7 separate regions of the Homo sapiens genome follow, and regions 1, 2, 3, 4, 5 and 7 are each linked to region 6. Evidence: promoter capture Hi-C in 16 types of primary human blood cells and fetal thymus (Javierre and others, 2016). All regions are on one chromosome and are shown on one strand. Each heading gives the region's core, a stretch centred on a gene start or on the middle of the fragment in contact. The rest is flanking DNA. Distances are from core to core; before and after follow the strand shown. Region 1 has its middle 4.2 kb from the start of PPID. Region 2 overlaps RXFP1 (relaxin family peptide receptor 1). Region 3 has its middle 14 kb from the start of FNIP2. Region 4 overlaps ETFDH (electron transfer flavoprotein dehydrogenase). Region 5 has its middle 310 kb from the start of MIR3688-1. Region 6 holds the start of RAPGEF2 (Rap guanine nucleotide exchange factor 2). Region 7 overlaps ETFDH (electron transfer flavoprotein dehydrogenase).

Region 1 (3,883 bases), core at 762-3,261, 380 kb after region 6:
TCTCTCCCTTGGGGTTGGATCTAAATTCAAAAAAGCCTAATATAACAGCAAATTTGGGGGTTTGGAGCCTCTGGTTCTCAATGTGATCTGCCTACACAGGCATCCAGTGAGAAATTCACGATCCTAACTCAGTTATCAGTTCTACAAATCTCTAATGAGTTCAGAGTTCCCTTCTGCAGGCTCCCTTTAAATGTGGAGGCTGCCTTTCTTTTCCACGTCATACATGGGTGTACAGGGATATTGTTTTGTTTCCACTTCAAGTTAGGGCATACAAAATCTCTGTGACCCTGTCTAGTTCCCATCTACCTAATCACACCATGAATCTTGTTCTCTTTCTGGGGCCTGTTGCCTTCCTGGGACAGTTCAGGAATCAAGGAACACGTCCCTCTGCTCCTGGATTTCACAAACCCATCTATGGAGGTTTGGTGGCTTCCCAGGTATGTGACGGGGACCATGGTAAGACTCCCTGTCTCTGGGACTGTGGAAATCTGCCTTGCCATTGCCTCCTCTCTCACTTTCCCCTGTGCACCATCCACAATCTTGTCATCTCCCAACACAGAAAGTGGGTTTTTTGTTTGATTTTTTTTCTGAGAATGGAAAGCCATGATCTTATAAAAGATGTTTTGTCCAAATCTTTTGCTATAGCCAAGAGTCTTATCTGTTTCTGTAAAGCCAAGCCTTTTGCAACACCAAAGACAGGAAGAGATTCCCTTTGTTCCCTCTGCTTTCTTTGCTGTCACTTCTTTCTTTAAAAGCAAAGAGCACAGAATGCCTAGCTGCTTGTTTGGGGTGATGGGCAATGAGATTGAGAAAAGAGAATATTGGGGAGGAAGGCAATCTATTAATATTATTCTACCACATTTATGAGCAACAGGCAGAAATTATAACAACAAGGCTATCAGGAAAACTCCCCACTCCATCTGGATGAAACTGTGTTAACCCTAAGAAACGGGGCATGCTTTTGCCTCTTCTGCTCTTTTCCTTGCTAAGCACAGACAAGATGTCAGAACTCAGAAGTCCTGTTCCATGTAATCAGACTGACAGTAGAACAAGTGTTTTCTAGGAAAAGGTTTATCTTTTCACTGGAGATCCAGTTCTGAGTGGTTTTGAAAGGTACAATTCTTTTATTTGGTTTGGTTCTAGGAATATGACAGTTTATATAAAGCTGTTGCTTTACTGTGAAAAACCTAGACATAGTGAGAGTAACATCTGAATTAATCTTTTACACCCAGAAACCAGTAGAGCAGAAAGAGTCACTTTTTTTTCCTTGTAAGAATGCAAAGGAATCCTCAAAACTCCTTTGCAGTTTTAATATCCATTTTGAAATATGTTGATGTAACTATTATAATGAAGTATTAGCTACTTATGGTTAGTAATTGCTTACCCTTATTGAGTACTTACTGTGTGTCAGATACTAAAACACTTTTATTTAATATTTTTCATTTAATCTTCATAATAACCTTAGGAGATACATATTATTATTCTGATTTATAGGTGAGGAAAGTGAGGCACAAAGAGGCTAAGTAACTCGTCCAAAGGCACAAAATATGATGTGTTACAGACTGAATGTGAACCCCAGAATTCTGATGGCAGAGAAGATATGCCTACCTAAGTATATTCATCATGATAATAATGGTTGAGAGGCTATGGCATATGGGTGTCAATTCTTGTAATAAAATGTTAAATTTAAGCTAGTAGATCAGAATAAAAATGTTAATGTGAACTTATTGTGATATATGTGAGACAAAGTTACCAGTTTGCAGCCAAGACATGAAACTGGATTAGTGAATGATTTTGATGCTCTAGTTTATCAAGGGATACAGAAGTTTTGTTCTGAGCCGTCCTGGGTCTTCAGGGAACCACCATGAATAAATACCGTGAATAAACACCAGGAATTGGAGAACATAAGAAATTAACATTTTATATTTATGTTAATGTGCTGGAATTTGGAAGGATCAGCATGAAAATCTGATACACAGAATCATTTTGAATTACACTTAAAGGCATGGAAATAAAATTTCTTGTTAACATTGTTTCATAAAATTCTCAAAGCCATTAGTATTTTGTATAATTCATTCATTCAAAAATATTTACTGAGCACCTACTATGTGTCAGGCACTGTTAGAAGTGCTGGGGATAGAGTAATGAAAAAAACAAAGGTTCTTGTCCTTGTGGAGCTAAATTTTGTTTTTTTAAACTCCTCTTACTATCTATCATTCCCAAGGAGCTGATTTTTAATGAGTATGTGAAATAAGTAAGTAAACAGTATATTACAAAGTTATAAGTGCTATGGAAAGGTAAATTAGGGGTATCTTTGAGTTTGCTCCTCTTAGTGTTCTTTTTCCTTTCTATTTCAGGGATAAAATGGGCTAGGTTATAAAACTGTTACTCATTTTGAAAACTCAATCTGAAGGAGCTGGACAAAAATACAAACCAAAGCATGACTTCTGATTTCAACATTGAAACCAGTTGATATGGTTAGGTCCCAACCCAAATCTCATCTTGAACTGTAATCCCCATAATCCCCATGTGTCTAGGGAGAGACTCCAGGTGTCTAGGGAGATCGGATCATGGAGGTGGTTTCCCCCATGCTGTTCTTGTGATAGTGAGTGAGTTCTCATGCGATCTGATGGTTTTATAAGAGGTTGTTCCCCTTCGCTCCTCACTCTTCTATCTCGTGCCACCACGTGGGAAGGTCCAAGTGTGCTTCCCCTTCACCTTCTGCCATGATTGTAAGTTTCCTGAGGCCTCCTTAGTCATGTGGAACTGTGAGTCAATTAAACCTCTTTCCTTTATGAATTACACAGTCTCGGGTATTCCTTTATAGCAGTGTGAAAAATGGACTAATACACAAGTGGTCCACACCCACCTGAAGTAGCAGCACTATCTAAAAAACTGGCTTCTCATGGAGAAATAACATTCTCGTTGCCCATTTTCACTTTATAAGTATATATAGTTCCCCTCCTTTGAAGATGCTCTTTACCTGTTCCCTCCTTACCTGTCTTCCTTGCCACATATGCTCCTGTGACTGATCTTACTCATATTTCTGACCTTAGAAAAGGCTACTGTGTTCAGTGCCCCTGCTGTGTGCTGAATGTGATTGTCTTTTTCCTATTAAAACACTAATTATATTGCATTGTAGAGGTTTATTCAATAGTCTTTCTCCCCCATAAGACTGTATAATTTGTGTAGTTAAGGATAAGGGGCCAGGCGTGGTGGCTCATGCCTGCAATGCTTTTGGAGGCCAAGGTGGGCAGATTGCTTGAACCCAGGAGTTCAAGACCAGCCTGGGCAACATGGCGAAACCCCATCTCTACTAAAATGTTAAATTTAAGCTAGTAGATCAGAATAAAAATGTTAATGTGAACTTATTGTGATATATATGAGACAAAATATAAGTTATCAGTTTGCAGCCCAGACATGAGACTGGATTAATGAATGATTTTGATGCTCTTGTTTATCAAGAGACACAGGAGTTTTGTTCTGAGCCGTCCTGGATCTTCAGGGAACCACCATGAATAAATACCATGAATAAACACCAGGAATTGGAGAACATAAGAAATTAACATTTTGTATTAACTTTAATGTGCTGGAATTTGAAAGGATCAGCAAGGAAATCTGATAGGAAATCATTTTGAATTACACTTAAAAATTAAAAAAAAAAATTACCTGGGCATGGCGGCATGTGCCTGTAGTCCCAGCTACTCAAGAGGCTGAGGTGGGAAGATCACTTGGGTCCAGGAGGTTGAGGCTACTGTGAGCTGTGATTGCACCACTGCACTCCAGCCTGGGTGATAGCACAAGACCCTGTCTCAAAAAAAAAAAAAAAAAAAAAAAAAGGATAAGGAATATGTTTTTTCATCATTGTATCATCAGCACTCAG
Region 2 (3,823 bases), core at 663-3,162, 460 kb after region 6:
AGAGCTGAGGAGAACTTCTTACAAGACCAAGTGGATTCCCCTCACATCATGTTTCCTGAGATTCAAAAAATCTCCTATGAGATTCTACCAGACTGTGGAAAACTAAAATCATCTCACCCAATATCAAAGGTTTAAGAGTTTTAATTATTGTTTAGACATGTCTCAGTCCACTTGGCTGCTGTAACAAAAATACCATAGACTGAGTGACTTAGACGACAAATGTTCATTTCTCACAGTTCTGGAGGCTGGGAAGACCAAGATCAAGGTGCCAGCAGATTCAGTGTCTGGTAGGGGACCACATGTTTCATAGATGGCCATCTTCTCTGTCTGTCTTCACAAGGTGGAGGGGCAAGGGTCGTCTCCAGAGTCTCTTTTCTTTTCTTTTTTTTTCTTTTTGAGATGGAGTCTCACTCTGTCGCCCAGGCTGGAGTGCAGTGGCACCATCTTGGCTCACTGCAACCTCCACCTCCAGGGTTCAAGCGATTCTCCTGCCTCAGCCTCCTGAGTAGCTGGAATCACCACCACGACTGGCTAATTTTTGTATTTTTAGTAGAGACGAGGTTTCACCATGTTGGCCAGGCTGGTCTTGAACTCTTGACCTCAGGTGATCCACCCACCTCGGCCGCCCAAAGTGCTGGGATTACAGGCATGAGCCACTGGCCTGGACCAGAGTCTGTTTTCTAAGGGCACTAATCCCACTCATGAGGGCTCTGTCCTCATGACCTAGTCACCTCCCAAAGGCCCTACCTCCTTGTACCATTGCATTGGGGTTAGTATTTCAATATATACATTTTGGAGGAACACAAACTTTCAGTTTATAGCTGGCAAATTAGTAGAAAATATTAATAGATTGGATGCATTATCATAATACACATGGAAACAAATATTAACATCACAGTGAAAAACAATAAAATATCTACTTACATGTGAGAGAGATTCATAAGAGGTCTAAACATCCTTTGTTGGATATTTGAAATTTCAATCCCTTCTAGGCTGCTAAAAATATCAAATTAATAATCAATCAAAGGAACATGTATTATACATGGTTTAATAAATTGAGTTTCTGTGAAGGACAATTTAATAAAATGCTTTTAGTTAACACTTACTCTGAACAAAATAATTATACTCAACCCACCCACTTCCCCAAATCCTCCTCCTTCTGATTGTGTTATTTATACACGTATTATCTTCCTTATTTGATTTTTTTCAGATCCTCACAGATCATGGCACAATGCTTTGTGCATTTTAACTAATCAATAAATATGTGTGGAATAAATGCACAAGCATTATCTTTTGTACAATATTACAATAGCAGAGGATGCTTTACATCCTTGAAAATTTCCTAGTAATTTTTAATTAATAAATTTTTTTCTAATAAAATGTCATTTTACTGAGGGAACACTCAAATTAAATGAACTGAAGCTTACCTTTTTTTTTTTTTTTTGAGACAGGGTCTTCCTCTGTTGCCCAGGCTGGTGTGGTGGTATGAACAGGGCTTACTGCAGCCTCAACCTCCCAACTCAAGCAATGTTCCCACCTCAGCCTCCCAAGTAGCTAGGACCACAGGTGCATGCCACCACACTCAACTAATTTGCTTATTTTTATTTTTTTGTAGAGGCAGCATCTCCCTATGTTGCCCAGGTTGTTCTTCAACTCCTGATCTCAAGCAATCCTCCTGCTTCGGACTCCCAAAGTGCTGAGTTTACAGGTGTGAACCACTGCACTCAGCCCTGAAGCTTATCTTTTAAGGCAATTCTTTGGCTCTAACAGAATTTTTGTCTTTTTGTGTGTGTGTGGTACAAGTAAGGATTTATATAATCTAGCATATTCCATCTTGGGGTAAAAACACTTATAATAAATTATAAAATACCCAGTGTTAAGAGAGTGAATATGCACAGATGTCTTTGAAGGGTCAAAGCAAACAAATCAACATAAGCTCCTAATGACTTATAGAAAAATATAAAATAATTCATCATTATTTTTTAATTTACAAGTATATAAGATAAAACTAATAGTTGTCTGTTTATAGTTCAGCAAGCACCCATATGTTTTTGTGGAGCTAAACTAATGTCTTGGAAATAAAGCTTATGATTTGAAGTAAATATATAAAAATATACATTGTTAGTATTTAAAAAACAATTTTATCATAAAACTATCCCCATATGTGAATACTTACAGAGACTTGAGTTTGACAAGATAATCAAATTGGTTTGCTTGAATTTTCTGGATTGGATTATAGGAAAGATTCCTGTTTTTTAAAAAAAGCAGCAATAGGTCATTTCTAAAAACTACATGAGTAAAGCGAGTGAATCTGTTTATTTTGGGTTACTTTAACATATTTATGAACGAAAGTATACAATAACTCGTAATGGATGAAAGACTTAAACTGTAAAATTATAAAACGACTAGAAGAAAACATAGGTGGAAAGCCCCAGGACATTAACCTGGGTGATGATTTTTTTGGATATTGCCCCAAAAATATAGGCAACAAAAGTGAAATAGATGAATGGGATTACATAAAACTAAAAAGCCTCTGCACAGCTAAGGAAACAATCAACAGAGTGAGGAGACAACCTGTGTAATGGGGGACAATATTTGCAAATCATATATCTGGTAAGTGGTTAATACCCAAAATGTGTAAGGAACTCAAACAACTCAGCAAGAAAACAAATAAGCTGGTTAAAAATTAGGGAAAGGGCTTGAATAGACATTTTTCAAAAGAAGACATATAAATGACTAACAGGTATATGAAAAAGTGCTCAACATCACTAATCATCAGAGAAATGCAAACTGAAACCACAATATTACCTCACACCTTTTAGAATAATTTTTATCAAAAAGATGAAAGATAAGGGTTGAGGATGATTTGAAGAAAAGGTTGCCCCTTGCATACTGGTGATGGGAATATAAATTAGTACAACCATTATGGAAAATAGTATGGGGCTTCCTCAAAAATCAAAAATTGAACTACTACATGATCCAGAAATTCCTCTACTGGATATATATCCAAAGGAAATAAAATCAGTATATTAAAGAGATTTCTGTACTCCCATATTCATTGCAGCATTATTCATAATAGCCAAGGTATGGATTCAACCCAAGTGTCCATCAAAGGATGACTTGATAAAAAAATATGTATACATACACAATAGAATACTATTCAGCCTTAAAAAACACAGAAAATCCTGTCATTTGCAACAACATGAATGAATCTGGAGGACATTATGCTACATGAAGTAAGTCAGGCATAGAAAGACAATTACCACATGATCTCATTTATATGTGGAATCTAAAAAAGTTGAACTCATGGAAGTAGAGAGTAGAAGGTGGTCACTAGAGGCAGGTGGGAAAGGATTGGAATATATTGGTCAAAAGGTACAAAAATTTCACTTAGAAAAGAGGAATAAGTTCAAGACATCTATTGTGTAACATGCTGACTATAGCAAATAACAATGTATTGTATTCTTGAAAATTGCTAAGAGAGTAGACGTTAAGTGTTCTCACCACAAAAAATAAGTATGTGAGATGATGCATATGTTAATTAGCCCAATTTAGGCATTCCACAATGTATACATATTTCAAAACATCATGTTGTACTGATAAATATATACAATTTTTGTTTGTCAGTGAAATAAAGAGATAGCAATAGCATTGGCCTCACAGGGTTGATTGTACATGTAAGTGAATTAATTAAGATAAAACACTTAGAACAGTGCCCAGCTTGTGGTAGATACTCTGTGATTACGGTAGTGATAGACTGAGACCTAATAAAACATAGGCATGAAGGCGGAGCTGTCAAGAAAGGGCTGCCACCAGAGAAGTG
Region 3 (3,727 bases), core at 1,073-3,572, 350 kb after region 6:
TCATCATCAAATTTCAGAACATCTTGGATAAGGAAAATAATTCTGGAATCTTCCAGAGAGAAAAAGCTGATCACAAAAAAAAAAATGGAATAGGACTCAGAAAAGCGTTAGAGTTATCACCAGCCACCCTTGATGATTGAAGATAATGGACTACAACCTAAAAAATTCAGAGGGAAAACTTTTTATCCTAGAATCCTTTATCAAAGTAAACTATAAATCAAGTCATAGAGAATACCCACATTTTCAGATGTACGAGGTCTTAAACATTACATCATCTGTGCATCCTTTCTTACGAAGCTGTTTAGCAAAATAGGGAAGTAAAACAAGAAAATAGAAGATATGGGAGAGAAGATGCAATGAAGAAAAGCAACAAGAAAATTCCTAAGGTTGTAGGAAGGGATGTCCCAGGATCTCTAAAACACAGTCAGGCCAGGGCTGGGTGTGGTGGCTCACGCCTATAATCCCTGCACTTTGGGAGCCTGGGGCAGGTGGATTACTTGAGGTCAGGAATTTGAGACCAGCCTGGCCAACATGGTGAAACGCCATCTCTACTAAAAATACAAAAATTAGCCAGAGAATCGCTTGAACTGGGAGGCAGAGGTTACAATGAGTTGAGATTGCACCACTGCACTCCAGCCTGGGTGACCGAGCGAGACTCCATCTCAAAGAAAAACAAAACAAAACAATCAGGCCAGAGAGGAGGGGGAGGGAAGAGGGCACCAGGAGTAGCTCAGAAAAATGGAACTTAAATGTTTGGGCATAAAAAACATCATTGTTGGCTAGGCGTGATGGCTCACGCCTGTCATCCCAGCACTTTGGGAGGCTGAGGCAGGCAGATCACTTGAGGTCAGGAGTTCAAGACCAGCCTGGCCAACATGGTGAAACCCTGTCTCTACCAAAAAGAAAAATATTAGCTGGGTGCTCTGGCACATGCCTGTAGTCCCAGCTACTCTGGAGGCTGAGACAGGAGAATTGCTTGAACTTGGGAGGCGAGGTTGCAGTCAGCCAAGATAGTGCTACTGCACTCCAGCCTGGGCAACAGAGTGTGTCTCTGTCTCAAAAAAAAAAAAAAAAAAAAAAAAAAAAGTCAATGATAAGTATATGCAAAGACACTGGAACACTGGGAAAAAATTAACAATAGGTAAATGGAAAACCAAACGATGCAATGTGGCAGTTACTAACTTCAGAAAAAAATGAAAGCTATGCAGGAAAAGAGGTTGTAATGCATTATCTGGCTCTGTGCAATACATTGTCTTAATAATTAATGTTGACTTGATTTAACAAAAAGTTATTATACAACTATACTGGGACATGGGGGAAGGAAAGTAAAGTTAGCATAGGGTAGTAAGATCCTACTGTTTATTCACCATGGCAGGAAGTCAATGGACAAGGACTAAAATTGGCTAGTCAAGACATAGTGACATGAGCATATAAATTTTTTAAGATATAGAGTAAAATATCAGTGAAATTAGCTAGAAAAGTTGAGGGTGGTAACCTGTAGGGCTGAGACTGGGTGTGGGAAAGATTGCAATAGGAGACTGTTGTTTTTTTGCTTTTTTTTTGAGACAGGGTCTTGCTCTATCTCTCAGAATGGAATTAAATGGTGCAATCATACCTCACTGCAGCCTCGACCTCCTGCGCTCAAGCGATCCTCCCACCTCAGCCATCCAAGTAGCTGGAACCACAGGCATGTACCACCACACCCTGCTAATTTTTTAAATTTTTTGGTAAAAATAGGGTCTCACTATACTGCCCTAGCTGTTCTCAACCTCCTGGTTCAAGCGATCCTCCCGCCTTGGGATTACAGGCATGAACCACTGCACCCAGCCTGACTATTGTTTTTTTTTTTTTAATTACAATCTTTTTAGTACTATTTGACTTTTAAAATGTTACACATGAATATGCTATTTGTGCATTCTTCTTTGATAAAAAATACAGTCTATCTTAAAATAATCTCATCTGTGGACACTGTTAAAAATCCTATTTCTGGGCCAATCTGGTAAATCTGCAGTGGTGCTCAGGAATCTGAACTTTTAACTAGAACTTCAAGAAATTTGGAAGCAGATGGTCTATGGATGATACTTTGAGAAACAGCACTTAGATCCCTCAAATTGTGTACAAAGTATTGTAGGAATGTGCAGCTTTTTGAAGAGAGTCCACAATTTTTCAGATTCTCTTGTGATGCCTCAAACCTAAACAAGTTTAAAAATTACTGTTCTCTGCCTCCTGCTTGCCTGCCTTTATCCAAGAATAATTGAGATTCCATTACTTATTTAAGATCAAAAGCAGAGCTAATTATTGTTAAGTGAGTTAAACACTTTATAAAATTCATTAAATGATACAGATTGGAAAGCATTGGCTAAATTTTTAGTCCATTGCTTAGTATATTGCTATGGTGAAAACCAGTGCATTACTACTTGCAATGTGTTGGCTAGAAATCTAGGGGCTTGAAAAAGTTAGTATGAATCCATTGTTACCTACCATGATGTTGACCAACCCTGTAGCTAAATTATATTCAGTTGAAAAAAAAGTTCGTATGTGGTTATTCAATAATTTTTAAATGGTTATAACTGCCACTTACAAGTACTATAGTCCAACTGGAAAAATTTAATGCAGGTATTTTGCCAATTGCATACATTTAGACAACACTTTAGTAATTTTATTGTGCAAGCCAGTCTCTACCAAACTTTTTCAACACTTAAAAAAGAAAATTTAGCTAGGTGCGGTGGCTCATGCCTGTAATCCCAGCACTTTGGGAGGCTGAGGCGGGCGGATTACCTGAGGTCAGGAGTTTGAGAACAACCAACATCAAGAAACCCCGTTTCTACAAAAAATACAAATTAGCCAGGCGTGATGGTGCATGCCTGTTATCCCAGCTACTCAGGAGGCTGAGGCAGGAGAATTGCTTGAACCCAGGAAGCGGAGGTTGCGGTGAGCTGAGATCACGCCATTCCACTCCAGCCTGGGCAACAAGAGTGTAACTCTGTCTCAAAAAAAAAAAAGAAAAAAAAAAGAAAAGAAAAAATAGCCACTAGGTGTTGCCACGTTGCCCAGGCTGGTCTCAAATCCCTGGGCTAAGCAACCCTCCTGCCTCAGCTTCCCAAGTAGCTGAGAGTAGAGGCATGTTCCATTATGCCCAGCTTTTTTCAACCTTTAAAAATTTGTTTTTGTCTTTATAAAACACTATAGGAGTTCGTAAGATGTAATTTGGATACATAGCAAAATGTAATTTTATTTTTGGCATGAAATCCAAAACGGAAGGTATTACATTTTGATTTATTTTTTATAAACCCTTATACATTAAGAAATTAGAGAAATTAAGTTTTATTTTTGTGGAAATAAAAAGTATAAAACATTTTTAAAAGAAGATGCATCACATAGAAAAGTACAAACCAGCAAGTGACAAGTTAATATTTGTTGAATGAACAGTAACATATAGTATGACCATTATTTGTATTTAAGCTGATTATGTAGTAATTCACATATCAGAGGTGCCTCATTCATATGTCATCTCTGACATTCTTAGGTGTGGCATACCATTTCTTAAAAGTAATAGCAATCCCATGCATAGCACTTACTATATCTCAAGCCTTGTTCTAAGCATTTTCCTTGTGTGTATCTCATATTTCCTTTAACCCTGGCAACAACCCTCTGAGAGAAGTAGTAGTAGTATTCCCACTTTTTTTTTTTTTAAGAGACAGGGTCTTGCTCTGTCACCCAGGCTGGA
Region 4 (2,708 bases), core at 31-2,530, 410 kb after region 6:
TTCATTCAATAAACAAAAATAAAACAAAACAGGGAGAAGCTGAAGACAGACCAAGGATGATAAAAGTTTATTTTTGGAGCAAGAAAAAAGGGGAAAATAGGTCAAAAGTGTAATTCTGATGAGGAGAAATAGCAATAGTCTGTAACCCTTGGTTTCTGTTTTCTCTGTGGAGGAAAATGCTCGCTGGATAGTAAAGTACAAAATGTACAATGCAATTACACAGCAGATTGTAAGAAAGCATGGGCATGGAGAAGTACAAGAAAAGATTAGCAGCAATGGATATGAACCCACCCCCCCACAATATATATATATATATATATATATATATATATATATATATATGAAGGTTTTATTTGAGATCCTGAAAACGAACAAATCAACAGCAGAATATGGCTACAGACTAAACTGAAGTTTGGCTCAGTGTACCCTCAAAAAACCCTGGCAAAGAGATCAATAATCTGTTGATGGTAATCATTAAGGACCCGAGAAAAAGAAAAGTGATACAAGTGACTATAAGTGTTCATGTATGTATTCCAAAAGTGAAAATCATGGATTCTACAAACCACCTACCTGTGACTTTGACACCGATTCCAGTCAACAATGTTTAACAAGGAGAAATGCAAAATCCCACACTTGGGTCCAAAAACCCCAAATGCATGTATATGGGTTAGGAAAACAGAAATTTATAGCAGCAAGTATAATACAGGGACCTACGTGTTTTATTTGACTTACAAACTGTAAGGGTAAAAACAAATAAAAAAAACTGAATTTTCCTTGCTGCCAATAACTTTTCTTTCAGCATTTCCTTTAGCAAACTTCCAACTGTAAATCCTTTATTTGTCTCTCTGAGATACATGGCAGTCTTTTTAAACTGCATTCCAGGAATGTCTTTTTTAGGGCTTTGGAGCCATTGCTTTGAAATGGAACACCAAGAAGGATGCCTCCTGTCTTCCTGTGTCTATGGGAATTTGGGTAGGTGTTTGGCTCTAAGTTGTAACTTCCTGCTTGTCAAAAAACAAAACAAACAAAAAAACCAACAACAAAAAAACGAGATATTTTATTTTTCCTTAGAGTAAAAACAGTTAACATGTATGTAATGAATAGATTGTATCTGTAAAAACAGTTAACATGTATGTAATGAATGGATTGTATCTACCTGGCTATTTAAAAGGGTGAGATTTCTGTCTTGGCCTGTGATATGCATCAGTCTTGGTTTAAGCCTAATTCAAGAATAAAACTGTTTCGTTCTTTTTTTTTGTTTTTTTGAGATGGACTCTTGCTCTGTCACCCAGGCTGGAGTGCAGTGGCGTGATCTCGACTTACTGCAAGCTCTGCCTCCCGGGTTCACGACATTCTCCTGCCTCAGCCTCCCAAGTAGCTGGGACTACAGGTGCCCACCACCACGCCCAGCTAATCTTTTGTACTTTTAGTAGAGACAGGGTTTCCCCATGGTCTCGATCTCCTGACCTCGTGATCCGCCCACCTCAGCCTTCCAAAGTGCTGGGATTACAGGTGTGAGCCACTGTGCCCTTTTTTTTTTTTTTTTTGAGACAGAGTCTCACTCTGTTGCCAGGCTGGAGTGCAGTTGCACCATCTCGGCTCACTGCAACCTCTGCCTCCCGGGTTCAAGTGATTCTCCTGCCTCAGCCTCCTGAGTAGATGGGACTACAGGCGCCTGCCACCACACCCAGCTAATTTTTGTATTTTTAGTAGAGAGGGGGTTTCACCATGTTGGCCAGGATGGTCTCGATCTCTTGACCTCGTGATCCGCCCACCTGGGCCTCCCAAAGTGCTGGGATAACAGGCATGAGTCACTGCACCTGGCCTGTTTCATTCTTTTTTATAATTTATGAAGAGAATTTTTCTGGGTCCTCAGGCGATTTTATTTTTTATTTTTTGAGATGGAATCTCGCTCTGTCACCCAGGCTGGAGTGCAGTGGCATGATCTCGGCCCACTGCAACCTCTGCCTTCTGGGTTCAAGCAATTTTCCTGCTTCAGCCTCCCAAGTAGCTAGGATTACAGGCACGTGCCGCCATGCCCGGCTAATTTTTCGTATTTTTAGTAGAGACGGGGTTTCACCATGTTATCCAGGATGGTCTTGATCTCCTGACCTCGTGACCTGCCTGCCTTGGCCTCCCAAAGTGCTGGGATTACAGGCATGAGCCACTGCGCCCGGCCAAGATTTTATTTTTAATAATTTCCCCAGTAATGCATAATAAGAATCAATAGTGTGATGTAGTTGCCAAAAAAGTAATTACTTTGAGGGAATTAATGGAAGACCAGTTTCTAGAATGGAGAAGATAACAGTTCTACACTAGACATGAAGTGGTTTATTCATTCTGGGTGCCACTTTGTAAAGGGGGTAAGAAGAGGTTCCATTCAGAAGTGGGCAGCAAGAATACTGAAAGAACTCAAAACTCAAATTATGTACCGTCATGGCTGAAAGCACTGAGAATATTTAAGCTAGTGCTGGGGCTCTTAAGATAATACCCTAAAAAGTATGTCCCTGGCATGCTGATGTTGAGGCTCAGAAACCGATATCCCAAAATATGGTGCTTTGACATGCTGAACTGAAGAAGCTTCAATGTCTCTCTGACCTTCCCTGGCCAACTGTCCCTGTCTCTTAATCGTCTGTCTCTCCCAAAGCACAGGATGAAGTTGTTCTCTGAAGTTCCCTTATCTTCCTAAAATACGGGCCTACCAAAGA
Region 5 (3,794 bases), core at 678-3,177, 340 kb before region 6:
CACAGCAACCTCCGCCTCCCGGGTTCAAGTGATTCTCCTGCCTCAGCCTCCTGAGTAGCTGGGATTACAGGTGCCCGCCACCATGCCCAGCTAATTTTTGTATTTTTAGTAGACAGGGTTTCACCATGTTGGCCATAATGGTCTCGATCTCTTGACCTCGTGATCTGCCAGCCTCAGCCTCCCAAAGTGCCGGGATTATAGGTGTGAGCCACCACATACAGCCCAGTTGCAGTCTTTAAGTGGTGAAGCCAGGATTCAAAACCACACAATGTGGAGTCTGAGCCCTTCTCTTATTCAATAATCTTACATGCTCTTAAACAAATAATATTATGATTAATGATAATATTTTTGACAAGTGAGAACAAGGATCTCAAAAACTATGTTCTTAACTGTTTTTACTGGCTTCTCCAAAATGCAAAACCTGAGGCAGAAGAGACCTTGCACATAATTTATTACTTTATTAGGGAGCAGAAGTGAGTGACAAGAGAAGGGAAGCAAGGAGGGAGGGAGAACCAGTACAAGAATGCATTTTTGATCTGGCCACAGCTAAATGCAACTCATTGCTGGATCTGTAGAACTGCACCCCTGAGACGTTACATAAAATGCATCTTGGTAGGATTGGAAAGGGTGTCTGGTTTCCCATTAGTCAGAGGTTCACCACCAGGATGTTAATTTCACCATCACTTCCCACTTGCACATGCACCTCTAGGAGGCAGAAGTGACTGGACAAGGATGGTTAGTTAGTGTGGTTTTAATGGGCCTTGAATGATGGCTGGTGGATTTGGGGATTGATTCTGCAAGCACTGAAGAATTACAGAGATTTTTGAAAAGGAAAGTGACATGATCAAAAGGGAAGATTTCCCTAGTTGTATGATCTCTTTATAGAATCTTCATCATCTACTGAAGTGAAATATTTGTGGAAGTTTCCTTTTTATCCCTTGAGAAATTGGCATGGTAGGGATGAATGCCCATTCTCACTTCCAGAAGAGGCAGCATCAAGCAGGACCCATGGAAGATAGTAAGATTGGGTTGGCCAAAAACTAACTTGGCCAATGGATGGGACTTAACTGGAAAGTTTAATTCAAATTGAGAGAACTCCAGAAAGCAACAGAATAATATTTTGGTCTCCCTTGAGGATTTGGGAGTTATGGATTCGGAGGTTCTGCCTTCCCTCCCACCATCTTATCCACACAGGCACCTGGGCAAGGTAAGAGCCTGGCACTGCCAAGCCAGATGGTGGAAGCTTTTGCTGCCAGCATCCTCCAGTGGGATGGGGCAGACTGTGTTCCCTGCCGGCTGGTTTCTGAGTGCTTTCAGTATACAGCAAAATCAGGGTGGATAGTATAAGCAATCTTTCATTCGTATAGCTGTTTATAATATAAACCACTTGTCTAAATATTTACACATTTAATCTCCACAACTTTCAAAACCATTCTGATTCTCCCTCCTTACAGTTCTCTTCTACCCTCAACCAGAGCCATTCGTGAACTATTTATCCTCTCTGTGGCTTAAATGAAAAAAAAACTGGAAAATGCAACAATTCTACCAAATGATAGTCCTCACCTCAGGCTTTGGGGAAGTTATAAATGAGATAGTGTATAAAAGGTGCTTAGCACAATGCCTGGCACAATGAAGGCCCTTAACAAATATTAGCTGCTATTTTCATTATCATTGTTTTTGCTATAGAGTATCACAATATTTTTATTAGTACTATTATCATCATCATCTGGCATTTGGTTCCATTATGAACCTTCTAGAACTAACCCTAAATTATTAGGAGATAGTATAAAATGCCTAGCTTAACACCGAGCATAGAGTGTCACTCAATAAACACTAAAGATGTTACCTGCAGTTTCCCAAGGGAGGAGGGGTACAAAGTCACCGCCTCTAGCACTCAGGGATAAGTAATTCCAGATGCCAGCTCTGAGATCTTTTCCTAGTCACTGGAATTCTTACATGATCCTATGATGATGGTTGTTTAATGGTCAAAAGCACAGACTGTAGAACCAGACATCCTGAGTTCAAATCCTACTCTACCTTGGGTAGTTTACTTAACCTCTAAGTGTCTCAATTTTATATTTAAAATAAAGAAGTCAATTGTACTTACCCCATGGAGTTTTATAAAAATTAAGTGAGTTAATAAACATAAAAGAGCTTGGGAAAATACCTGGCACATAGTAAATAGCATATAAAAATTAGCTAGTAGTGCCTTTCTTTATTCCCTTCTGCCTGTGGGCTCACCTCATATTCTCATCCAAATTCTCCTCTCCTGCATCCTAAACACACACACACACACACACACACACACACACACACACACGGTCCCAGTGTCTGAGCCCCTGATCTGCTGATGGTTCCCAGTTGTAATAGTCTATACTAACACTAAGATACCCCATTATTATTGCAGAAATTCAACCACAAATGGTATGATGAGGTTGGAGTAATGCCAAAACTATCCTCAGGCTTCTGACACAAAGCCACAAAGAGCGACAGTACCTTAGTACATTAACAAAAATACAGAGTTCACTCTTACAAAGACCTACAAGTTTGACTTTCCCAAGTCTCATGATTGGCCAAGTTCAAAGATACCAACTGATAGTAACAAAGCTTTCAAAATCCTCATGTGTAAGCCAGCGTGTCAATTTATAAACTTTCAGCAAGAAATATATTTAGTTAGGGGTTTAGCACTTCATATTATCTAGCCAGCATATTTTGTTCCTATAGCCAAACTTCTCAGGTTACCAGGTCTCACTGGTTTACATGTGAGTTAGTTAACAGATCTAAATGTTAAACTATCAGGCTCTCAAAACATGATGCAATCCTCTCAAGAAAAGGTATATTATCTGCTCAAAGAACTGACAAGTCATTGGGTCAAGATGTTCTCTACCCAGAGTGCACCTATGTGGTCGTTGCCAACATTTGCCCCTAAAACAGGCTGATCTGTTTTTGTTTTTGATGTTTCTATGGATGACCAATTTCTCCCACTTCATTAATTAACATAGTATTTTGTAGGGGAAAGAAAAGAAATATGCCAATAATTTTAGTCAAGACTTGATCTGGACTATAAGATTATATTATGTATATTTATGCTGATGATTCTTGAATAGTTATGTATTTAATTCTTTCAGAGTAGTCTTATTGTCCTTAGTTCTATATTCTTGAAGGACATTATGTTATACCCCTAGGAAGTACCTACATTCTCTTTTGGACTTAATGATGATAGCTGGGCCCCTGGACTAAATATTTATTATAGATTCTATATGATACCGTGCTTGACCAATCAAGCTGTACATGTGCCTATCTGTCTAGTTCCATTCCTGTGCCTTCCCAGTACAATCTACATCCTAAACTCTGTTTCTACTTTCAGATCTTACACACCTTTATTAACGAATATGGCACTTCTGGCCAGGCGTGGTGGCTCATGCCTGTAATCCCAGCACTTTGGGAGGCTGAGGCGGGCAGATCACTTGAGGTCAGGAGTTTGAGACCAGTCTGGCCAACATGGTGAAACCCAGTCTCCACTAAAAGTACAAAAATTGGCAGAGCATGGTGGCAAGTGCCTGTAATCCCAGCTACTCGTGAGGCTGAGGCAGGAGAATTGCTTGAACCTGGGAGGCAGAGGTTGCAGTGAACCAAGATCATGCCCTCACACTCCAGCCTGGACAAAGTAAGACTCCATCTCAAAAAAAAAAAAAAAGGCACTTCCGCTGTGTTATGGGATGAATTGCATCTCCTCACTCCTTCACCATTCATATAGCAAAGTCCTAAGTCCCAGTACCTCAGAATGTGACTAT
Region 6 (3,797 bases), core at 1,273-3,772:
TCTTTTAGAATGGGAACTTTCTGGAGACAGATAAATTTTCTTGTAAAATTACAGCCATCTTCCACACGTTTGATAAATATGTGCAATCTATCCATGATCTCCCAGATGTGACAGCTCCATCAAGGAAAATGAAAAATCAAAAACGGTACCAGGTGCCACTCTTGGGGCTTGTCCAAAGGCAGCCAGGGGAAGAGTCTATTTTATTATGCTCTCCCCACAGTAAATAATAATCAACATCAGAGAAGGAGAGCATTTGGATTTGAACAGATGGCATCCAACATCTAACAAGCGAAGCAACACTTTCAAGCATTAGATCCTAAATGTCTGATGGTCCCAAGGATCAGGAGGGCTTATTTGTCTTAAGAGGGTTGGCAGGCAGGATCTCCTATAGTCACCATCCCAACGCTTAGGAATATGCGTCATTATCCAGTCAGCAACTAAAGGCGGAGAAAATTAAGCTACCACATTTTTATAAAATTTCCCCCTCTCCAGTAAAACTTGAGACAACCAAATCCAACCCTATCAGCCGCTATAAGTAAGAGAAGAGTAAGCCTGCAGGTAAACAAATGTATAAAGGTTAACAAACTTATCTAATTTTGACAAGGTTGTGCAACACCAAAAGAATCCGCAGGGTGCCCTTCCCGAGGGTGTACTGGAACATGCCTGCTCTGCAGCTATGTCTGCAATTTAAACTAAAAGCACTAACTTAGCTATTCAACTTTTTTTCCCTTCAATTGAAAGCAGTATCCTTTAAAAAATAAAAGCAAAACAGTAAACATACAAACACCTCAATGTTTTACTGAAGGTCAGCATGGATTTGTCTTTAGCACAACCGTACAGGTTTCCTCCTATACCTTTCAAACACCACTGAACTCCAAGGGTCACTTGCAAGGGGAGGAACGGATCTGGAGTCAGAGGGAGCAAGAGTCGCTGCCCGAGGGGAGATGAGACTCCATCCCCTGAGATTCAGAGGCCACGGAGGGCGGCTGGGGAGAGGGAAAGCTAGAGAATTCACACATTCACACACATACACACACACACACACACTCTCTCTCTCTCTCTCTCTGTCTCTCCCTCTCTCTCTCTCTCTCTCTCTCTCTCTCTCTCTCTCGGCTGGGCAACATAGTGGGAAAGGTCAGTCATGGGGAGGGAAGAGTTAAGGAGCAGAATGTCAAGGAGAGGGAAAAATAAAACCAGGATAGGCGGAGTAAAAGACTCGGAGGTGGGATGCCTTTGGAAGTTGGGGGTCCTGATGCAAGAAGTGGGGTGCTCGGGGCGAACTGTGTCAGGAAGGAGGTGGGGGGACAGGGGAAGACGCAGCCTGCGAGGCAGAAATCCGGCCAAGGGCAGGCGGCCGCCGCGTTCTCACCTGGGGGGTCCTTTCGGGGGGATTCTTCATCACCGCCTGGCGGAAGCTGTTATCTACGTAGGACGCCATCTCCCCTCTGGGAGCGGGCCGGGGCCGCTCCGCACCCTGGCCGGCCTCCTCCCGGCCCAGCGCCGCTGCTGCCTCCGCCCTGCGCGCTGCGCCCGCCCGCCCGCCCGCGACTAATCAGCCAAACCGCGGCGGCGGCGGCGCGGGGCCCGCGGGGGGGCGGCTCGGCTGGGCCCGGCGGCCGAGAGCGCGGTACAGGCGCGAGGGGCTGGACGCAGCCGGGAGGGTCGCGGCGCCCCTAGGCTGCCGTGCGATGCGGCCCGCAGGCGGAACTCCCCTTCCTCCTCCTCCTCCTCTTCCTCGCCGCTCCGCCGGCTTCCTCCGGCCCTGGCTCGACACGCCTCCCCGGCTCCACTCGGGGGACAGTGGCGGCTCCTCCTGGCCCCAGCGGGCCCGAGTTATTTTTAGGGAGGTACGAGTGGCAGTGGGGAGGGCTGTGGGCAGGCGGAGCCTCCTCCCCCACGGCGCTGAGGGTCGCCCCCTCCTCTCAGGGGCTTGCGCAGCCGCCGCCCAGGGGTCTCCGAGAATCACTTGGATCTTCCGCGTCCCCAGTCCTCGGGCGCCTCGGCCGCCGGTCGGGAGGACGGACCAGGTGGGTCTGGCTCAGGTCCGGGCGCTGCGAAGCCCGATCGCCTCGGCCGCCGCTCCTGGTCTCTGTCTACTGGGCTCGGCCGTCCCTCCCGACTGCTGCTGCATCCCCTCGGGCCGCCCAGCCGCCGCCGCCGCCGCCTCTGCTGCTCGGGCCGCCGCTGTGGGCTCCGCCGCCGCCGCCTCCCCCCATCAGCGCGCCCGGAGCGGAGCTGCCCCGGCGCCGGCGCCGCCGCGGCCAGAGCACCCGGCCCGGGCTGCAGCCCTCCGGCCCAGTCGCTCTCGGCAACTTTGTTCCTCGTCTGCGCGGGGCGGAGGAGGGGGAAGAGGGGGCCGCGGACAGCCCGGGTTCGGACTCCCGGCGCGGGCGTCCGAGGGCCGAAAGCCGAGAGCCGCGCACAGCCCCCTCGGAGAGAGTGTTTGGGAAGCGGCGATTCCCCTCCTCTTCCTCCGCCTCTTCCTCCTCCTGCGCCTTCTCCGGCCGCCGGAGCCGCTCCTCAGGGAGGAAGCGGCCTCTGGGGCTTGTTGCTTTGTGCTGCAACCATGGTGAGGAATGAGTGACAGCGTGGGGGCGAGTCGGCGGCCGCCGCATCATCGGGGGGCGGGGCAGCCCCGTCGCGCCGGGTCCCGCCTCCCCGCTCCCCGCCCGCCAGCGGCCGCGCCCTCGCGTCTGAGCGGCACCTTCGGCGGCGCCCAGGTGAGCAGCGCTCTGGCCGCAAGTGGGTCGCGGAGCCCTCGGCCGGGCTGTCGGGTCCCGCGCGCGGCCTGGACCCGAAGAGGGGGCGCAAGTCCTGGTGCCCCGGAGAGAAGCGCAGGGCTTTCCTCACGCAGTGTCCCCCACTGTCTCACGCCGCGCCCCCTCCCCACACCCGACGCGCCCTACTAGGAGACCCAGCCGCGTCGGGTCGCTGCTCCCCGCCCGCTCCTGGCGCCACGCCGCCGCCCAGGGGCTGAAAGCTAACCTTGGGCAAAAGACCGGCCCACCAGCCCGGGCTGTACTGGGCATTCTTTTTGAGCCCAAGAGTTGCGTCCGAGTTGCTTCTGTGGCGATAAATCCTCTTAGGATTTATTTTGCTTATTTGTAATTTGCTGCACCCTCCCCTGCTTTCCAAGCCCACTCTGGCACCTCAGACAGTAAAATGACCACGAAATTAGGCAGAGAGGTTTCAACACCAGACCCACTACCACCCCTAGACCAACAAACACTCCAGATTTAAAGTTGATCACTCCTTAGCGACAGACCAGGATGGCAAGTTCTGTGACATAATCAGAAACATTTATTGGTAGGTCTGGCTTTGCCTTGGACAGAACAAGCCTCCTCCTCTAGATGCTCAAATTTCCAAACCGGACCCACATGGTGCAGAAACAATACCTCGTCCTTCAAGATGTCACCGCTCCTGCTGATTCCCTCAGCTCCCCCCCACTCCTTGCCCCGGCCACGTAGAGGTGTGTTAAGGTCAGCCCAAGCATCGGGGACCACTCTGCTGTTCTGGTCCCAGGGATTTATTTTTGTTTGCCCCCACCCCCCACAAGTTCTTATTTTGATATCTATAGACACAATGAGTTTTATGTATGAGCTACTGCGTTGAACTTTTCAAACATGATTTTCAACATCTAGTTTAAACACTTGGAATAGATTGTCAGCTAACATTTTGGGGTTCCTTAAGTCACCTGTGTGCACTAAACAGCTTGTGTGACTTCCTAGCAAAGGGACTGTCCCTGCCCAACCTTGTGAAAGGGAATCTGAGTTACAAATTGTATCTGTAGACCTTTT
Region 7 (3,514 bases), core at 970-3,469, 400 kb after region 6:
TGGTCTCTTATTACTAAAATGAAACAAGGGAAGCAATTACTGTTCTCTAATGTAGAGGCAGAAGGCAAATCTTGATGTACTTGAGTTCTCTCAGTTGACATCCTCTAAAATTACGTTTCATTTCTGTGTTTGTGTGATTGCTCAGATTTTCTGTTACTAGGGCTTAGTTACTTTGTAGAGAAGTTTTTTCAAGGGGTAGTTAACATTAAAATAGTTTGTTAGTCACCATAATTTTTTGGATATTTTGAGAAATAACTCACATTGCATATTTATTTTACAGCTATCCAGGCAGAATTGCTGAAAGTCAAACAAAAGATAAAGGCACAGAAAGATAAAGAGAAGGCAGTATATGCAAAAATGTTTGCTTAGAAAGGATTCAGTTTTGCTTATTGTGTGTTGATTGTATAAATGCAATAAGAAAATGTAAAGGTTTTTGTCTATGAATATGATCCCTAATGTGTTTCTTTTGACACCTTAGTTCCTTACTGTTTACAGTTTAGGAGTACTGATAGGGGTTCATGCTTAATAAACATGTCACAATACAGTAAGTAAAGTGGTTTTGTTTGTTTCTTTGAGATGGAGTCTTGCTCTGTCACCCAGGCTGGAGTGCGGTGGCGCAATCTCGGCTCACTGCATCCTCTGCCTCCCGGGTTCAAGCAATTCTCCTGCCTCAGCTTCCCAAGTAGCTGGGATTACAGGCACGTGCCACCACGCCCAGCTAATTTTTGTATTTTTAGTAGAGATGGGGTTTCACCATATTGGTCACGTCACGTTGGTCTTGAACTCCTGACCTTGTGATCCACCCCGCCTTGGCCTCCCAAAGTGCTGGGATTACAGGTGTGAGCCACCGTGCCCGGCCAAGTAAAATGTTTTTTAAAATGGTTATGTGCATTATTCATAAAAAATAATGGTGTCCAGTCTTTTTAAACTTGTAAAGACACATCTTATTGAATAAAGAGATGAGAGCTTAAGTTTGTATATTGTTTCCTTCGATTCTTTGATGTATCCATGGTGGATGATGCTAGGTTTTCATACTTATAGATAATACACACACACACACACACACACACACACACACACACACAAACTTGTTCAGGGATGGGCATACTTCTTCTGCAAGGGCCAGATCATAAAGTTTTTAGGCTTTGTAGACCATGTAATGTCACACCCACTCACCTGCACAGTTGTAATTCAAAATTAGCCATAGACAATGTGTAACCAATGGGTATGGCTGTGTTTCAATAAAACTTTAGTCTAGAATATATATTCATTTTTATATTTGATTACTTAACTTTGGCAAGTCAAATGTAAAGTCCAGTAGTGAATTTTGCTCTTGGTACTGAATCTCTGAAGAACTGAAGAGGTAGGAAGATGCTGCATTCTTATAAAGGTTATTTAAAAGCAATACCCGTAATTTCTTTATGGGACAATCTTACATATAGTATAAAATTTTTATTTGATAATCATTTTGTGACTATTCTGTTCAGTAATATGCAGAAAGACATTCTGAAATCTGTTAATCTCTAAACATTTTAACGTTAGCTTGCCATACTTGAAAGAAACTGGCTAGCTGCAGTTTACATTCCATTGTAAGCAGGTCCTCCTCCACCTTCAGGTACCACCCAGTTAATATTCTGACTTGGATCTTTAATATCACATGTTTTACAATGTACACAGTTCTGAGCATTTATCTGTAACCGAAATCCATCACCTTGTTCCACAGGTACAAATTCATAAACTCCTGAAAAGTAAAAATAAATAATATTGAAGTGCCTAACTTTAAAAAATTTTTAAATTCAAAAGTAAAAATTAAGGAAAGAGTAGCCACAGAAACCTTAAAGGTTGCTTTCTGAATGCTTACCCATAGAGATTATGAAGACCTTGGTGCATTGCTATTGATGTGAGTGTAAATTACATGTACATAATAAAAGGAGGTACAGCGGTATTCAGCTGAGTTGTCTCACTATCAAGGGTACTCGACACTGAGTGTTTGAGTTCCACACAACCTCGAAGTCCTCCCTTATTCACAGTCATCCTCTCATTCACAGGGGACAAGTTCCAAGATCCCCAGTAGACGCCTGAAACCTCAGGTAGTACTCAACTTACATTGTCAGTCAGAACACGTTTCTGTTCATGTATTTCACCCACAAATGTGATGCCTTTTCCATCTTAAGGAAGCACTTGCCACACTCTGGCCATAACTTCTACAGTTCGAGGTCCAACAGCAAAACGCACAAATTTCTTTTTCCTCTTTCACAGAAGATACAGTCTTACCATAGACCTTAGCAACCTCAGCATAGGATTTTTTTCTCTTTATAGAGAACTTTCTCCTTTCACTTAAAGGAAGCACTTTATGGCATCTCTGAATTGTCAGCATCACTACTCTTGCGTTGTGGGGATATTTCTAAAGGGTTACTGGACACAAGTATGATAATGTGACAGTAAATCTGATAACTTAGATGGCTACCAAGTAACATAACGAATGTTAGGTGTGAATATGCTGGACAAAGGGATAATTCACATTCAGGGTGGGGCAAGCCCGAATGGTACACAATTTAAAACTTAACGTGCACAATTTAAGACTCAAGAATTATTTGTTTCTGGAATTTTCTTATTTTCAGACCGTGGGTGACTGGGGGTAAGAGGAGCCTAACGGTACAGCTAAAAAACCAAATTTAACCTCAGGGAGTTTTCAACCCACTGTAATGACAAAAGCCAAAAGACCAAGTCACAGTGTATCTTCTTTTGTGAATGTACTACTTTTCGAGTATCGGAATACTATTTTGTTCTACCATATCATTTGAGACCTGGTTCCTATTACTGTAATTTCAGTTGAAAGCTCAGCACTGAAAGAATATTCATGGTGAATTTAAAGTTTCAGAGCATTCCTTGGACTGAATGTAATCATAATGTGCTGTTCTAGTACATGCACCCAAATACATACAGATGAGCTGCCATGACAGAAATGACTTTAAATAGTCACATGAACCTGCAAAGAGAGGTATTTCATTTTCAAGAATCTTCATCTTAGTCTGAGTGTAGACAAAGGGCTTTTTTTTTTTTTTTGAGAAATGTTATCTGAACTAGGCTTAACAAAACCAGTAGTTAAAAGTATGTTTCCTAAAGGAAGCTGGATGAAGTCATTTACAATTTCTAAGGAATGGAAGGAGATACAGAAATCATTTTTTAAAAGAACAAAATCACATTCCTAAAATGTTTAAAGCAAATATTTAGGAATAGATGGAAATTATTACCTGCAGGACAGAATCGCTGCTCGGGCCCATCATATATCGACAGATTTCTATTTACAGGTATACTGTCATCCCTTAAGGTTAAGTGTGCCGGCTGGTCATGTTCATGATTAGTACCACTCAGAGCCACAGATGACAAGAGGTCAAAACTGATCTGTCCATCGGGTTTTGGATACTCAATAGGTGTGCAATCCTTGGCTGGCTTGAGCCGTTCAAAGTCAGAACCTTCAACAATTTTGAGGGAAATGCTTAACAAAATATGA

What was found. Contacts are between HindIII fragments. The CHiCAGO score rates a contact against its expected background, and 5 or more counts as called.
Region 1: a contact is called between a fragment that was not itself captured here and the fragment with the promoter of RAPGEF2 in region 6, in 17 of 17 cell types (non-activated CD4 T cells, activated CD4 T cells, naive CD8 T cells and 14 more). The highest score is 33.8, in non-activated CD4 T cells.
Region 2: a contact is called between a fragment that was not itself captured here and the fragment with the promoter of RAPGEF2 in region 6, in 4 of 17 cell types (total CD8 T cells, naive CD4 T cells, naive B cells and 1 more). The highest score is 7.9, in total CD8 T cells.
Region 3: a contact is called between a fragment that was not itself captured here and the fragment with the promoter of RAPGEF2 in region 6, in 11 of 17 cell types (non-activated CD4 T cells, naive CD4 T cells, activated CD4 T cells and 8 more). The highest score is 13.1, in non-activated CD4 T cells.
Region 4: a fragment that was not itself captured here is called in contact with the fragment with the promoter of RAPGEF2 in region 6 in 11 of 17 cell types (non-activated CD4 T cells, total CD8 T cells, activated CD4 T cells and 8 more); the score reaches 18.6 in non-activated CD4 T cells.
Region 5: a fragment that was not itself captured here is called in contact with the fragment with the promoter of RAPGEF2 in region 6 in 1 of 17 cell types (endothelial precursors); the score reaches 5.0 in endothelial precursors.
Region 7: a fragment that was not itself captured here is called in contact with the fragment with the promoter of RAPGEF2 in region 6 in 17 of 17 cell types (non-activated CD4 T cells, naive CD8 T cells, naive CD4 T cells and 14 more); the score reaches 22.7 in non-activated CD4 T cells.

Annotation. Positions count from the first base shown.
Region 1 is chr4:158,725,672-158,729,554 of GRCh38, reverse strand. No RefSeq gene overlaps it. Among named protein-coding and RNA genes, the nearest start is that of PPID, 4.2 kb to the right of the region's middle. The HindIII fragment of the contact is 5,384 bases long and covers 1-3,883 here.
Region 2 is chr4:158,636,433-158,640,255 of GRCh38, reverse strand. It overlaps RXFP1 (relaxin family peptide receptor 1), which reads right to left. Exons shown (of 18, transcript NM_021634.4): 13 at 2,177-2,248; 14 at 925-996. Among named protein-coding and RNA genes, the nearest start is that of C4orf46, 34 kb to the left of the region's middle. The HindIII fragment of the contact is 348 bases long and covers 1,739-2,086 here.
Region 3 is chr4:158,752,939-158,756,665 of GRCh38, reverse strand. No RefSeq gene overlaps it. Among named protein-coding and RNA genes, the nearest start is that of FNIP2, 14 kb to the left of the region's middle. The HindIII fragment of the contact is 5,362 bases long and covers 1-3,727 here.
Region 4 is chr4:158,687,230-158,689,937 of GRCh38, reverse strand. The region is part of intron 5 of ETFDH (electron transfer flavoprotein dehydrogenase); the gene reads right to left. Among named protein-coding and RNA genes, the nearest start is that of ETFDH, 16 kb to the right of the region's middle. The HindIII fragment of the contact is 2,604 bases long and covers 1-2,582 here.
Region 5 is chr4:159,441,765-159,445,558 of GRCh38, reverse strand. No RefSeq gene overlaps it. Among named protein-coding and RNA genes, the nearest start is that of MIR3688-1, 310 kb to the right of the region's middle. The HindIII fragment of the contact is 1,364 bases long and covers 1,246-2,609 here.
Region 6 is chr4:159,101,804-159,105,600 of GRCh38, reverse strand. RAPGEF2 (Rap guanine nucleotide exchange factor 2) reads right to left here and starts at 2,522. Exons shown (of 30, transcript NM_001394067.2): 1 at 1,370-2,522. The coding sequence starts at 1,438. RefSeq lists silencers at 1,383-1,802, 1,770-2,064, 1,813-2,102, 2,143-2,362, 2,493-3,032 and an enhancer at 2,681-3,372. The HindIII fragment of the contact is 5,553 bases long and covers 1-3,797 here.
Region 7 is chr4:158,706,591-158,710,104 of GRCh38, reverse strand. ETFDH (electron transfer flavoprotein dehydrogenase) reads right to left here. Exons shown (of 13, transcript NM_004453.4): 12 at 3,255-3,476; 13 at 482-1,741. The coding sequence ends at 1,578. PPID (peptidylprolyl isomerase D) reads left to right here. Exons shown (of 10, transcript NM_005038.3): 10 at 281-978. The coding sequence ends at 369. Among named protein-coding and RNA genes, the nearest start is that of PPID, 15 kb to the left of the region's middle. The HindIII fragment of the contact is 4,560 bases long and covers 1-3,514 here.